3 separate regions of the Homo sapiens genome follow, and all the other regions are linked to region 1. Evidence: promoter capture Hi-C in 16 types of primary human blood cells and fetal thymus (Javierre and others, 2016). All regions are on one chromosome and are shown on one strand. Each heading gives the region's core, a stretch centred on a gene start or on the middle of the fragment in contact. The rest is flanking DNA. Distances are from core to core; before and after follow the strand shown.

Region 1 (4,010 bases), core at 1,511-4,010:
CTGTCCAGTAAGGAGCTGATAACCAGGGAGAAGGAAATTCCTTTGCATCCAGGGCTAAGGTCCAGGGAGGGCATGAGAACACACCAGCTTCAGAGGTGGCTTCAGATCATCCAGGGCCTGAGACAAGCTGGGTGACACCAGAGGACAGACAACTAGGCAGCAGGTTCCTGCAGGGCTGAGAATCCTACCAGACATAGCAACAGGTTCCAGCAGCCCCTGCTGTCAGGGCTCCTGGGTGGGGACTTGGTGAAGAAGGGGACCTGGGCACAAACCTAGAGGAGAGCTAAGTGAGGCAAGAGTCTTGGAGCTCAGGTGTCCTGGTGGGGCTGGCACCAGCCCGGAGCAAGGTGGGGCATTAAACTGTTTGACAGTGAGGCAGGTGGGTGGGGAGGGCAGCAGGTACACTGTGTACCGGAGCTTCTAGGCAGGTTTCAAAGTAGACTCTCAGCCTGTCTTTACAAATAACGCCATTCAGTCATTCATTCATTCAGTCAGCCAGCCAGCCAGCCAGCCAGGCAGTCGGTCTATAAATGCCAGTCACCAAGCAGCTTCTGCACGCCAGGCACTGTGTGAGGATGGAGATGGATAGGGACCAATGGCTGCATGGACACAGTGGGAGGCTGACCTTGGCCTCAGGTTCACTGGCTGTGGAGCCAGCAGGTGCTCCACAAACATTTAGGTGTGTGTTTGGGTAAAGGAGGGGTTAGATGAGGAGGAGGAACCATCTGAACACCTGAGTTTTAAGGATGATTTGGATTTTCCAAAGGCCACACCTAGTAACAGTTTGTGTTTTGAGTGCAGCTCTGAATCAGAGACCTCAGTTTTATGGCAATTGCCTATGGAAAGATTGAGGGAACCCCTGTTCTTGTGTCCCCAGGAAAGAGAAGTTCCTTGGCAGGGCAGAATCTGACCATCGTGGAGTGAAGGCAAGCATGTGCAGGTGCTCAGGGGCTTATCACCTACTGCCTCCCCCAGTGCCTTCACCTCAGCTGTGTCACGATGTCACTCTGAGAGCTCCCCTAGAGCGAAAGCAACTCAGGATAGAAGCAGACATTTTAGTTTTGGCTTTTCCCTTCCTTTCTCCGACCCTGGTGCCCTGAGTAATGATAAACTGAACCTTATTTCCACCTATTCTAATTCATGCCCTTCTTACTTTAGCAGAGCTAGAAACACCCACTGTTTAGAGCCACTCAAATATTAAGCATCTTTATTTCTACTTAAAGGGATTTATCTTAGCACCGATTAAGGCTTACCCACAAGGCAAGGCTCTTTCTGTGTCCTCACGCTGTCACTCCTAAAACTTTCCAGAACTACAAGTGACCCAGCTCTCAGTCAGGAAGGGCTCCCCTTTCCACCTCTAATCAATTTTCTGCCTGGGCTTAATTTCCTCCATAGACATTAGGGAGTCACAAGGAATTAAAACAAAGGAGAACACAGGATTTCTGTGTAAAATTCTTTTCTTCCTAGGGTTTGTTTTTTTGACCTTGGTGAGTTATTTCACCTCTGGTGGCCTCAGATTCCCCAATCATCCCTTGAGGAGTGTGAACTAAAGGCTCTCTGAGATCCATAATCTCAGTGGCTCTCAACTGTGCTCTGTCTCTTACCCTGGGGAGTTCATGATCTGTAGAGGAAAAGTGGGCTTCCTCATCAGAGAGCTCCTAGAATGACAGGCATGATGGGCATATGTTAGGCTCCCCACTGAGATTTGTTGAATAAATGAGGAAATAAACACTGTGGTGGGGACACCGTTGCTTTAAGCAGGAACAGCTCTGACCCTCGGAAAGCCCCCAGGAGATACAGACCCAGAAGGAGGAGGAAAACCTTGCAGCCAGCAGGATCTCTAGGTATTGGGGCTGGAGCTGGCAGTGGGCAAAAGTGGAGAAGGATTCAGCATTGAGGACCCCATGGATGGGCTGCAGGGAGGCAGGTAGAAAAGGCTTTTGGGTTTTCAGGTGGGGGGCAGTCTAGCCTGATCAGAAAGGAGGAAAAGGCCAGGGCCAGATGTCTGGGTGGAGTGAAGGGAAAAAGTGATCCCAGAAGAAGGATTAGCCCCTGAAAGTCCCTGAAGTAGGAGAAGGGTAAAGGTGTGGTTGGTGAAGGAAAGCAGGTTTTCCCAGATTAGCAACCAGTCAGGGGGAGGAAGGTGAGAGTGGGAGAGTCATAAGTAAATTATTCTGAATGTGTGTAGTTTAATGGAATTGGGAAAAAGATGGGGGAAATGGATGGAAGGGTCTTGGACTCTGAGACAAGGGGTCTATAATCAGTCCATTTCATTATTTCTAGCTTCCACCTTCACCAAGGCAGACAAGGAGGGCCCACCTCAGCTCCTCTGCTCCCCCTCCCTTTCCCACCTATTCATGTGTGCAAGAGTGCCCTGTCCCACAGAACACGGGGAACAACCATCTCAATGACAAGGACAGCAGGTGGCAAGGCCTCAACAGGACTCAGATGTCCCCCCAGGGTTAACTCATGAAACCCTCCATGAAGCCTGCTGCTCACCCCTCCCTCAAGGCAAGCCCTGCACCTGGGTCTGAGGATGAGGGTGGCAGTGAAAATTAGGCCAGTGACATCATTTTCAGCCAGCCAGTGCCAAAAAATATCAGGTGGTGTTCATCAAAAAAGCTGAGCCAACCGGTGATGAGGATGGTAGTGTGAGTCATGTGTGACAGGTGAGGAATGAAAACAGAGTGCCCGAGAGCTTCTATTTCCTTGAGGCAGGGCTCATTCATCTTATAAAAGCCAGCTGGCCATTGCCTTCACACCAAACCCAAGGGACCACACAGCCCATTCTGCTCCGTATACCAGGTAAGTCTCTGATTGCAACAAACTGGCAATTCTAGTGTACTTTTTCATTATTAGAAATTAGCTAAAGGCAAATATGTGTAAGCAGGTTAATCCAGGGTTTCAATGGGAGATAGAGAATAGTGGAATATCTTTATTTTAAGTTAAATTACAGTCTGGATTTGAAAGGACCTTAGAGATGGTTAGGGCTCCCACCTCAGTAGATAGTCATTGAACTGGGAGTCCTGGAGAAGATTGTTCAAATGCCCATGGGAAGTTCATAGCAGAACTAGAACTCAGGCCCAGAGCACTCTCAGTAACACTGCAATTTCCCCCTGACAAGATATTTATAGAAATTTTAATTTATTAGATGGATCTCTACTGAGCATTTATTCCATTTAAGGCAGTATGCTAGGCACTTTGGACAAATCAATGCCTAACGTACTTACTTAACAAACATAAAACCTAGCAGGAAGGTAATACATATATATAAATAAATGAAATGCAAAGTAGATAGTAATTGGCATGACGGAGATGGGCAGAGAAGGGCTGTGCACTTTTGGGAGACCTTGCTCAAGGAGACCCTCCTAGGGGTGTCAAGTGATGTGAGCTATGATGGAGGGGTATTTGGACAAGCAGAGATGGGAAGAAAAGCATTTGGAAGGGACTGTGTAAGCACAGACCAGAAGCAAAACCATAGAGGCTTAGATGAATATAAAGCCATCCTATAAGTCACAGGCTTTCTACATGGTACTAGGAGAGGAAAGTGGTCTGATGCCATTTTCCAAAAGACCTAATATGCGGACCTCATGTCCCTCAGAAGCCAGCTTTAGTAGGGCATTTTTCCAGAACAGATATAAGTTGCCTTGGGTAGGAAGGGAGCCAAGAAGAGAACTCCAATAAAATGGAGCAGAAGAAATTGCCTTTTAGCTCCTCCTCTTCAAAGGGCCTGAAAATTATCCAAGCTTATTTCATTTTTAAATGTAATGGGGGAGTTAAGGGAGATGAAAGGCTTTCTCTTCTAAAGGGTCCTGAAATAAAATCTGTTTGGCATTGAATTTGTATCCATCTTTCTTTAATTGAATCACTGTGTCAGCTTTCTGTCTCTAGAAAAAAACACATTTGAAGCATGAATTCTCAGCAGCAGAAGCAGCCTTGCACCCCACCCCCTCAGCCTCAGCAGCAGCAGGTGAAACAACCTTGCCAGCCTCCACCCCAGGAACCATGCA
Region 2 (4,010 bases), core at 699-3,198, 250 kb after region 1:
CACTCAGAGCATATGAGCTAGTAAAAGAGGCAATCAATATAAGAAATACACAAAAATAAATACATAATTCTAAATTTTGTTACATTCAACAAAAGAAAGTTCTAGGTTATATAAAATAATGAATTGGAGAACCTAATTTAGATTAGAGATCAGGAAAATCTTCCATGAGAAAATAAAATTTAATCTGAAACTGGAGAGGTAGGAGGAGTTGTCCAGGTGACAAAAAGAAAAAAATTATAGTGAAAACAAAAGATGGTTCTGATATAGGAAAAGCCTGATTGTTGTCTCAGACACAAAGATAGAGAGTGAGAGGGACTGTGTCCCCAGACAGGGACAGGAGGTGTGTGGGCAGGAGCAGACCCCACAAGCCTCTGAGACCACGTGACAGGTTTTGACTTTTGCCCTAAGAGTGAAGCATTAAAGATTTTTAAGCAGAGAGTGACAAGATTCAATTTGCAGATTGTAAATATTGCTCTAGTTAAAGTGTGGAGAATGGATTAGAGGAAGCAAGCAAGAGGTGAAGCGGGAGCCACTGGGGACACCATGGCTATAGCCAAGTCTCTGTGCAGCAGCAGCCACCATTTCCAGAAGCAGCTGGGAAAGACTGAAGGAGGAACAGGTTTGGGTGCAGTCCAGGTAAGAAGACCAGGGGCTCAGTTTTGAACCTGTCAATTTTGAGACGCATACAGAATAACCAAGCAGAAATACAAAGTAAGCACTTACATCTATGAGTCAGGAGCGCGGGAAAAATTCAGGAATGGAGATCTACACTTGGGAGCCATCATCGTAGGGGTAGCATTCTAGCTTTGGGGTGTATAGATCATCCAGTGACAGAATATAGATTAAGAAAAGAAGGGAACTTAAGACCATGCCCTGAGAAACCTCAACAGCTAAAGGTTGAGAAGAGAGAGAGCCCTTGGCAAAAGATTAAGAAGGAGTCAATGATTTAAGAGAAAAGTCAGGAAGGAGAGAGTGTGCAAAATGCTGAATGCCACTGAGGATCAGGAAGTGCCCACACTGAGTGACAACATGGAGAGCAGGCATGGGGGTGGGAGGGTCCAGCCAGGCTGGTCACCCAGGGATTGCTCAAATACTGGAACCTCTTCCCACTCACTTCTCTTCTTCTAAGGCACAGTGGTTTGCCATTAGATCCTGGTACATGGGAATAAGTGAGTGAATGAATGATAAATGATCTGAGGACCCAAAAGGTTTAACAGCTTGACCAAGATTATCCGGCCAGTAAGTATCAATGCCAGAGCTGAAACCCAGCTCATCTGATTCCAATGCCCATATTCTTGGTTTAAAAATACAAGCTTTAACCCAGGGGAAATACCTTTGATGACACACTCTCTGTCATGTTTAATATCATACTTTAAGGACTATTATACTTATCTCTAAAACTGAATCTATGGCTTAGGAGTTCATCAAAAACTAGGGTAGGGAGTGAGAGGCATCCCCTAAGGTCGCCTATCCAGGGGATAATGCATGAAGGAATAACCTTTACACTAAATGAATGTATAGTTTGGGTTACATCCTTGAGACCCTGTCTCAACTGACGAGCATGTGAGAGTCTGGCCACTCGCCCTGTAGGGCCAGCTCAGAGGGGAGCTTGGTGTTCTGGAGTTGTCGGTCAGGGGTGATGGTGGTGACTGTGGTATCGTGGGGGCCACCACCGCCATTCATGGTTGAAAGAAAAGAGGTGGTCAGCTGGCAGGGCCTTCTCAACTCAACCTCCCTCATCACCCGGTTCCCAAGCCAGCCTCATAACCAGTCCTCCCTCCTTTAGAAGCCGCTGGGGACCCCTTTTCTCTTCTCTTCCCAACAGCACCACCTGCTGGCCATAGAGGCACTTGGCCTTCTACTAATCACACCCAGTCTGGCCTGAGTTGGAGATGGCCGCACACACTCGGGTCCAGTCAATGCTCCATGTGGAGAAGACAAGAGTACAGAGATGCAGCATCTAACAGAGTCAGAGGAAGGCTATATGTGCAAGACAGAGTTACATTACTTATAGGGTGGGAGCAACACGAATAATGGTTCAGGACATAGGCTCAGGAATCAGACTTCTGGAATTCAAATCTAGACTCCACCACTTCTATTGTTCCCTTAAAACAAATTTCTCCTATGTGAGAGTAAGTGACACAGAATCTCCTATGAGCCAAGCACTGGAGTTACAGCAGCGAACCAGATACACAGAATCCCTGCCTCCCAGAGCTCACATGAGGAGGAAGACAGACAAAAAGCAACTCAGCAAATGCATAAATAAGAAATTGAAGAAAATGAAACAAAATGACCAGGGAAGAGGGGTGCTCTTTAGCTCGGGTAATGTGGAAAGGCCGATCTGAGGTGAGAGCAACAGAAATGATGGGTTACATGATGGTGGCAATGGCAGCGTGCTGGAGGTGAGAGGAAATCTGAGGGAACATTTTCTTGAATGTGAATTGACTGACAAAAGTGTCACTGAACACATTACCTTTGATTCCTAAATAGCCAGAATGACAAAGCCTATCTGTAGATTACTCATTGTGTTCTCATTCATTTATTTTTTCATTCAACAAATCTTTGTTGAGTAGCTACTGTATGCCAAGCTTTCCTTTAGGTGCTGGAGATGTAGCAGTAAACAGACCAAAAGTGCTGTTTTTGTGGAGTTTACACTTAGAGGACACCAAAAGCTCATTTATCCATTCACTGAGCTCCTGCTGAGCACCTAATGCCAAGCATGATGCCAGACACTGATGGGTCCCAGACCCTAAACAATAGGGCTATCTTGGGGTGGGCACATTGTGGCCAGGGTGAATATGCACCTGCATCTGTTTAGGTTTGTTCACAGGCATAAACACACACCTGCCTGAGCATGTATCCCATCAAACCTCAGACAACATGTATATACTGTTCAGATGTTTTTCAAAATGCATCGGGAAGACCCCGAAGGGGTCTCAGTAGAGGCTTTTTATTTGATTCAAAGCTTCAAAAGATTATTCCATCTGCAAAATGTATAAAGGCTGGATGTTGGAGGAAGCATGAAATAGGGAGAGGAAGGACCTGCTACTAGAGTTATGGCTAAAGGTGGTAGATGGCAGCAGTGGAGACAAAGACAAGAGGGTGACGCTAAGTGTTTTGGAGGAATAACTAACAGGAGTAGCAGGGGGACTCAATGTGTGGGGTAAAGGAGGAGAAAGAAGGCAGAAATACTCCCAAGTTTATGGCTTAGGCCACTAGGTGGATGCAGAGAGGTGAGGACTAGGAGATATGTGGGTACATGTCTGAAGCTCAGAGATATCTGGGCCAAAAATGTACATATTTGAGAGCTGTCATCACATAGAAGGTATTTAAAGATATGTGAGTGGCTGAGATCACCCAAGGAGAAGAAGAGAGGGCCCTACCGAGCTGAGGACTCCACAAGATCTCAAGGTTGGACAGCGCAGAAGGAGCCTGTACAGCCAGCTGACAAAGAGCGGTCAGTGAAGGAAGAGAAACTAGGAGGGTGGAGACTGGAAAGACAAGAGAAGACAGGTGTCCAAGAAAGGAAGGAAAATCAATGGAGTCAACCAATACTAACTGGTCAAGAAATGCAGAGTGGCTGGTGACCTTGATGAGGACAGCCTGAGTGGGGACACAGAGGCCAGAACAGAACAGAGTGGACTGAGGAGCAAAGGGAGGTACCAAGCAGGGCAGTCTGTGGGGTTCCTGGATGCAGCTGGATTGGTTTGCTGCTCAAAGAAAATCCCAGCTCAGACCTACTCTAGGACAGAAGAGGCCTTCATGAAAGATGCCTGGCTGCAGGTGTCCAGGTGTGGGAAGGTGAGTGGGAGGAGGCAGGACTGAGCAGCACTTCCCCAAACCAGGAGGGAAGCCAACACCGAAGCCCAGGCTTCCATTTATAGAGTTTCCACAAGTGGACCCGGACTACTCCACCCTGTTCACAAAGCAACCTCGCCTGAACCTTTGACACCAGAGGCTGAGTCAGGCCCAGATGGCAAACACACTTTAAGCCCTAATCAGACTTTGCA
Region 3 (4,010 bases), core at 1,006-3,505, 130 kb before region 1:
GAACTCAGCCCCTGCCTAGACCAAGGACTAACTCTAATGGCTTCTCTAATGTCCAGTTTGTTCTCACAGCCTACAGGTAAATATTTTAGGAAACTTTCCCTATTATGGCTTTATACAATAAGCCTGATATGTGAAAATGGTTCCCCAAGTGTAAGACTCCAACCTTGAATCCTTGCCCAATCCATGTCAGTATCCATTGTCATGGCTGCAGCCCCAATCTATATGTGACTTGGGGTGATTTTTTATAAGAAATGGAAGTGGTCCTGAGAGTGGATTAGGGAGAGTGTTGTGAAACCAGCTTTGCTTAGTCACCAACATGCTCTCTTGGCATTCATGGGTATTCATAAATCATGGGAGAAATAAAGAGATAGGCCCCCATCATTGAGGGACACTGAGCTAAACAAATGATAATAATAATAAGAAGAAGAAGAACAGCAACAATCTGTATTTATATAGTGCTTACTACGTACCAAGTACTCTTCTAAGCACTCTACTCATATTACTTATTTAATTCTCACAACACCTCTATGAAGGAGATGTTATCACCATTTTACAGACCAGCAACTAAGGCAGAGATGTCAAGTGACAAGCCTAAAGTTTACAACCAGTAAGTGACGAAACCTAGGCTTGAAGTTAGGAAATCTGGCTACCAACACTAAACACTGAGCTGCTATGCTGTGCTCCCAGAAGTGTGATGCTGTGCTCCCAGAAGTGTAGTGCTGGATGGGCATGCTCTCCTCTTGCTACCTTGCATCCCTGCTCCTCCTCCATCCACCCCTAGTCATAAACACTGGGTTGGAACTTAATCAACCCTAGGTTTAGTCTTGATTCTGACACTATTTTAACTTTGTGGATTAAGTAAGGTGACTTCTGTGAACCTCCAACTCTTGTTTCTAAAATGAAGGCCTATAACCAAGCCCACTGAAATATTTTATTTGTAATTAACTCAATCATTCAATGAACCCCTAGTAAGTACCAGCTATATGTAAAGAACTGCTTTATTTAGGTATTATAGTGATTACCTCTTTATGATCTGATCTTATGCATTTTTTGGAGAAAAATTTCTTTTTTTTATTATACTTTAAGTTCTAGGGTACATGTGTACAACGTGCAGGTTTGTTACATATGTATACATGTGCCATGTTGGTGTGCTGCACCCATTAACTCGTCATTTACATTAGGTATACCTCCTAATGCTATCCCTCCCCACTCCCCCAACCCCATGACAGGCCCCAGTGTGTGGTGTTCCCCACCCTGTGTCCAAGTGTTCTCATAGTTCAACTCCCACCTATGAGTGAGAACATGCGGTGTTTGGTTTTCTGTTCTTGTGATAGTTTGCTCAGAATGATGGTTTCCAGCTTCATCCATGTCCCCACAAAGGACATGGACTCATCCTTTTTTATGGCTGCATAGTTTTCCATGGTGTATATGTACCACATTTTCTTAATCCAGTCTATTATTGATGGACATTTGGGTTGGTTCCAAGTCCTTGCTATTGTGAATAGTGCCGCAATAAACATACGTGTGCATGTGTCTTTACAGCAGCATGACTTATAATCCTTTGGGTATATACCCAGTAATGGGATGGCTGGGTCAAATGGTATTTCTAGTTCTAGATCCTTGAGGAATTGCCACACGGTCTTCCACAATGGTTGAACTAGTTTACAGTCTCACCAACTGTGTAAAAGTGTTCCTATTTTATTGGAGAAAAATTTCTAACAAAGATAACAATGTGGAAAGAAATGGACTGCCTTGTGAGGTAATGAGTTCTCCAACTAAAAGCATTTTCATTTAGGCCAGGAAGCTCACCACTAGGCATGTGGGTGAGGAGATACAAGCTCCTGGTGGAAAACCACACTACATTCTTTCTAAGGCCTCTGCAAGGCTAAATAAGTTTGTGAGTTTACTATGCTTCCTGCATCTTTCAATTTCCTAGGAAGATCCCTAGAGGAGCTCAGAGGAAGGTGGTAGGACTGTGAAAATGTTGTTACCAGAATGTTTCATGGGCTGGCTATAGTTCTACGGTTCTACCAGAACATGCCAGGACAGTGGCTACCAAACTAGGTAGAATAACCTGGGAAATAGTTAACCAATGTAAATCATAAAGACCCACTCCTTGGAGATTATGATTCAGTAGGTCTTAGTTAGAGACCAGGTGTCTGCTTCTTTTATTTTTTATTCATTTATTTTATTATTATTATTATTATTATTTTGACAGAATCTCGCTTTGTCACCAGGCGGCTGGAGTGCAGTGGCACTATCTCGGCTCACTTCAATCTCCACCTCCTGGGTTCAAGCCATTCTCCTGCCTCAGCCTCCCGAGTAGCTGGGATTACAGGCGCGTACCACCACACCCAGCTAATTTTTGTATTTTTAGTAGTGATGGGGTTTCTCCATGTTGGCCAGGATAGTTTCAATCTCCTGACCTTGTGATTTCCCTGCCTTGGCCAACCAAAGTGTTTGGATTACAGGCGTGAGACACCACACCTGGCCGGGATCTGCATTTTAAAAGTACTTCCAAGATGGCTCATGTTCCCAACCAGGTTTGCAATTCTTGATCTACAACAGCACTGAGAGTCCAGGACAGCTTCCTTGCTTTGCGCAGTTCTTTGCCGGGCTTGCCTTATTGCTCTGCACCCTTACAGACTGTGTGATATGCACTTACTTTTAACTGTCCAGTATTCAGTTTTTCTAGATGCAATAATAACAAACTCTCAAGGTTGTTAAGAAGAGAAAATAAAGCATGTGAAATGCAATACAATGCATTACAAAGCATGTGAAATGTAATACAACGTATTACAAAGCATGTGAAATGCAATGCATGGAGGGATGTGAGGGGCTTCCCTTGTGTGACCACCATCACTAAAAGAATGAATGGTTTAGAACTACAGGCTCACAGAGTGATGGAACACGGGGTCTTGGTGTCACAGGTGAAGGTGTGGGCTCCAGAAAGATTGAGCAACTTGCCTAATGCTTCTTAATGTGTCCCCCCATGCCCTTAAGAGTTTTGTAGTGGCTTTCCTAGGTAAAAACACTACTGAAAACAGGCTTTGAGGTGAAGGGTGGTGATAAGAGGGATTCATCTTCCCTACCTTTCTCTTAAGATGTGTTAATTGCAGGATGAGAGATACAGTCCAGCTGGGTTATCTCCTTTAGGCACAGTGGAGAAAATGATGGAGAGATCAAAGGCATGGAGTTGTGATGAGCCAGAGATATCATCAGAACAACTGTTTCCAAGAATAGGAGGGCGGTGGAGCCAAAGATCTGTTCTGCTCACCTTAGTTGGTAGAATTCATCTTTAACATCAGCAAAAAGACATGAAGTTTCACAGGAGTCAGAAAGCTCTGTCATTGTAGGCAGTGGAGTCTCCTTTCTTAGAAGATTCAGAAACATATTCTTGGGATTTTAGAAATATATTCTTATTTAAAAATATATTCTTGGGTCTGGAGGAAAATGATAGGCAAGATGATCACTCTTCATCCCTTCCTATTTTAGGATTAACAGGCATCACTTGATGGTGACATGTGTAAATACAGGCTCCTGATAAGGTGTTTTAGCTATTGCTCCATTCACCAAAGTCAACCAAGAAGCCAGGGCAGGGCCTAGGATCCAAAGAGGGCATCGTTCCATGTGTTACATAGGAGAAGGATTGGCGAAGCTATCGGAGACAATAAATCAGGGAGTCACCCAGGCTCTAATATGGTCTAGAGCAACCACAAGCACAGAGATCTCATAATTACCTTAGTGATCAAGATGAAAGCAACAATACTCATTTTACAAATGAAGAGACTGAGGCCCAGAAGAGGCAAGTGGCTCATAGCTGGTCAGAGTCAGGACTAGGCTTGTGCTCCAGGGATGACCTGCTGCTTCTTTCCAAGGGAGTTTTCTACAGCTGGAGATATTAGGGAAAAGAGGGGCCACAACACTGGTACGAGATGATATTGGTGTGCATCCCCCATCCTAAAGGAATAGAGCTCAGCATCTGGAGAATAACTGGGACTGTAATAATA

Evidence for each region. The method cuts DNA at HindIII sites, captures the fragments that hold promoters and counts their contacts. A CHiCAGO score of 5 or more calls a contact.
Region 2: a contact is called between a fragment that was not itself captured here and the fragment with the promoter of SPRR1A in region 1, in 2 of 17 cell types (megakaryocytes and erythroblasts). The highest score is 7.0, in megakaryocytes.
Region 3: a contact is called between a fragment that was not itself captured here and the fragment with the promoter of SPRR1A in region 1, in 1 of 17 cell types (naive CD8 T cells). The highest score is 5.1, in naive CD8 T cells.

The regions. Positions count from the first base shown.
Region 1 is chr1:152,981,321-152,985,330 of GRCh38, forward strand. SPRR1A (small proline rich protein 1A) reads left to right here and starts at 2,761. Exons shown (of 2, transcript NM_005987.4): 1 at 2,761-2,805; 2 at 3,892-4,010. The coding sequence starts at 3,911. The HindIII fragment of the contact is 3,855 bases long and covers 1-3,744 here.
Region 2 is chr1:153,227,629-153,231,638 of GRCh38, forward strand. No RefSeq gene overlaps it. Among named protein-coding and RNA genes, the nearest start is that of PRR9, 12 kb to the left of the region's middle. The HindIII fragment of the contact is 1,275 bases long and covers 1,312-2,586 here.
Region 3 is chr1:152,851,244-152,855,253 of GRCh38, forward strand. No RefSeq gene overlaps it. Among named protein-coding and RNA genes, the nearest start is that of LCE7A, 6.7 kb to the right of the region's middle. The HindIII fragment of the contact is 6,660 bases long and covers 1-4,010 here.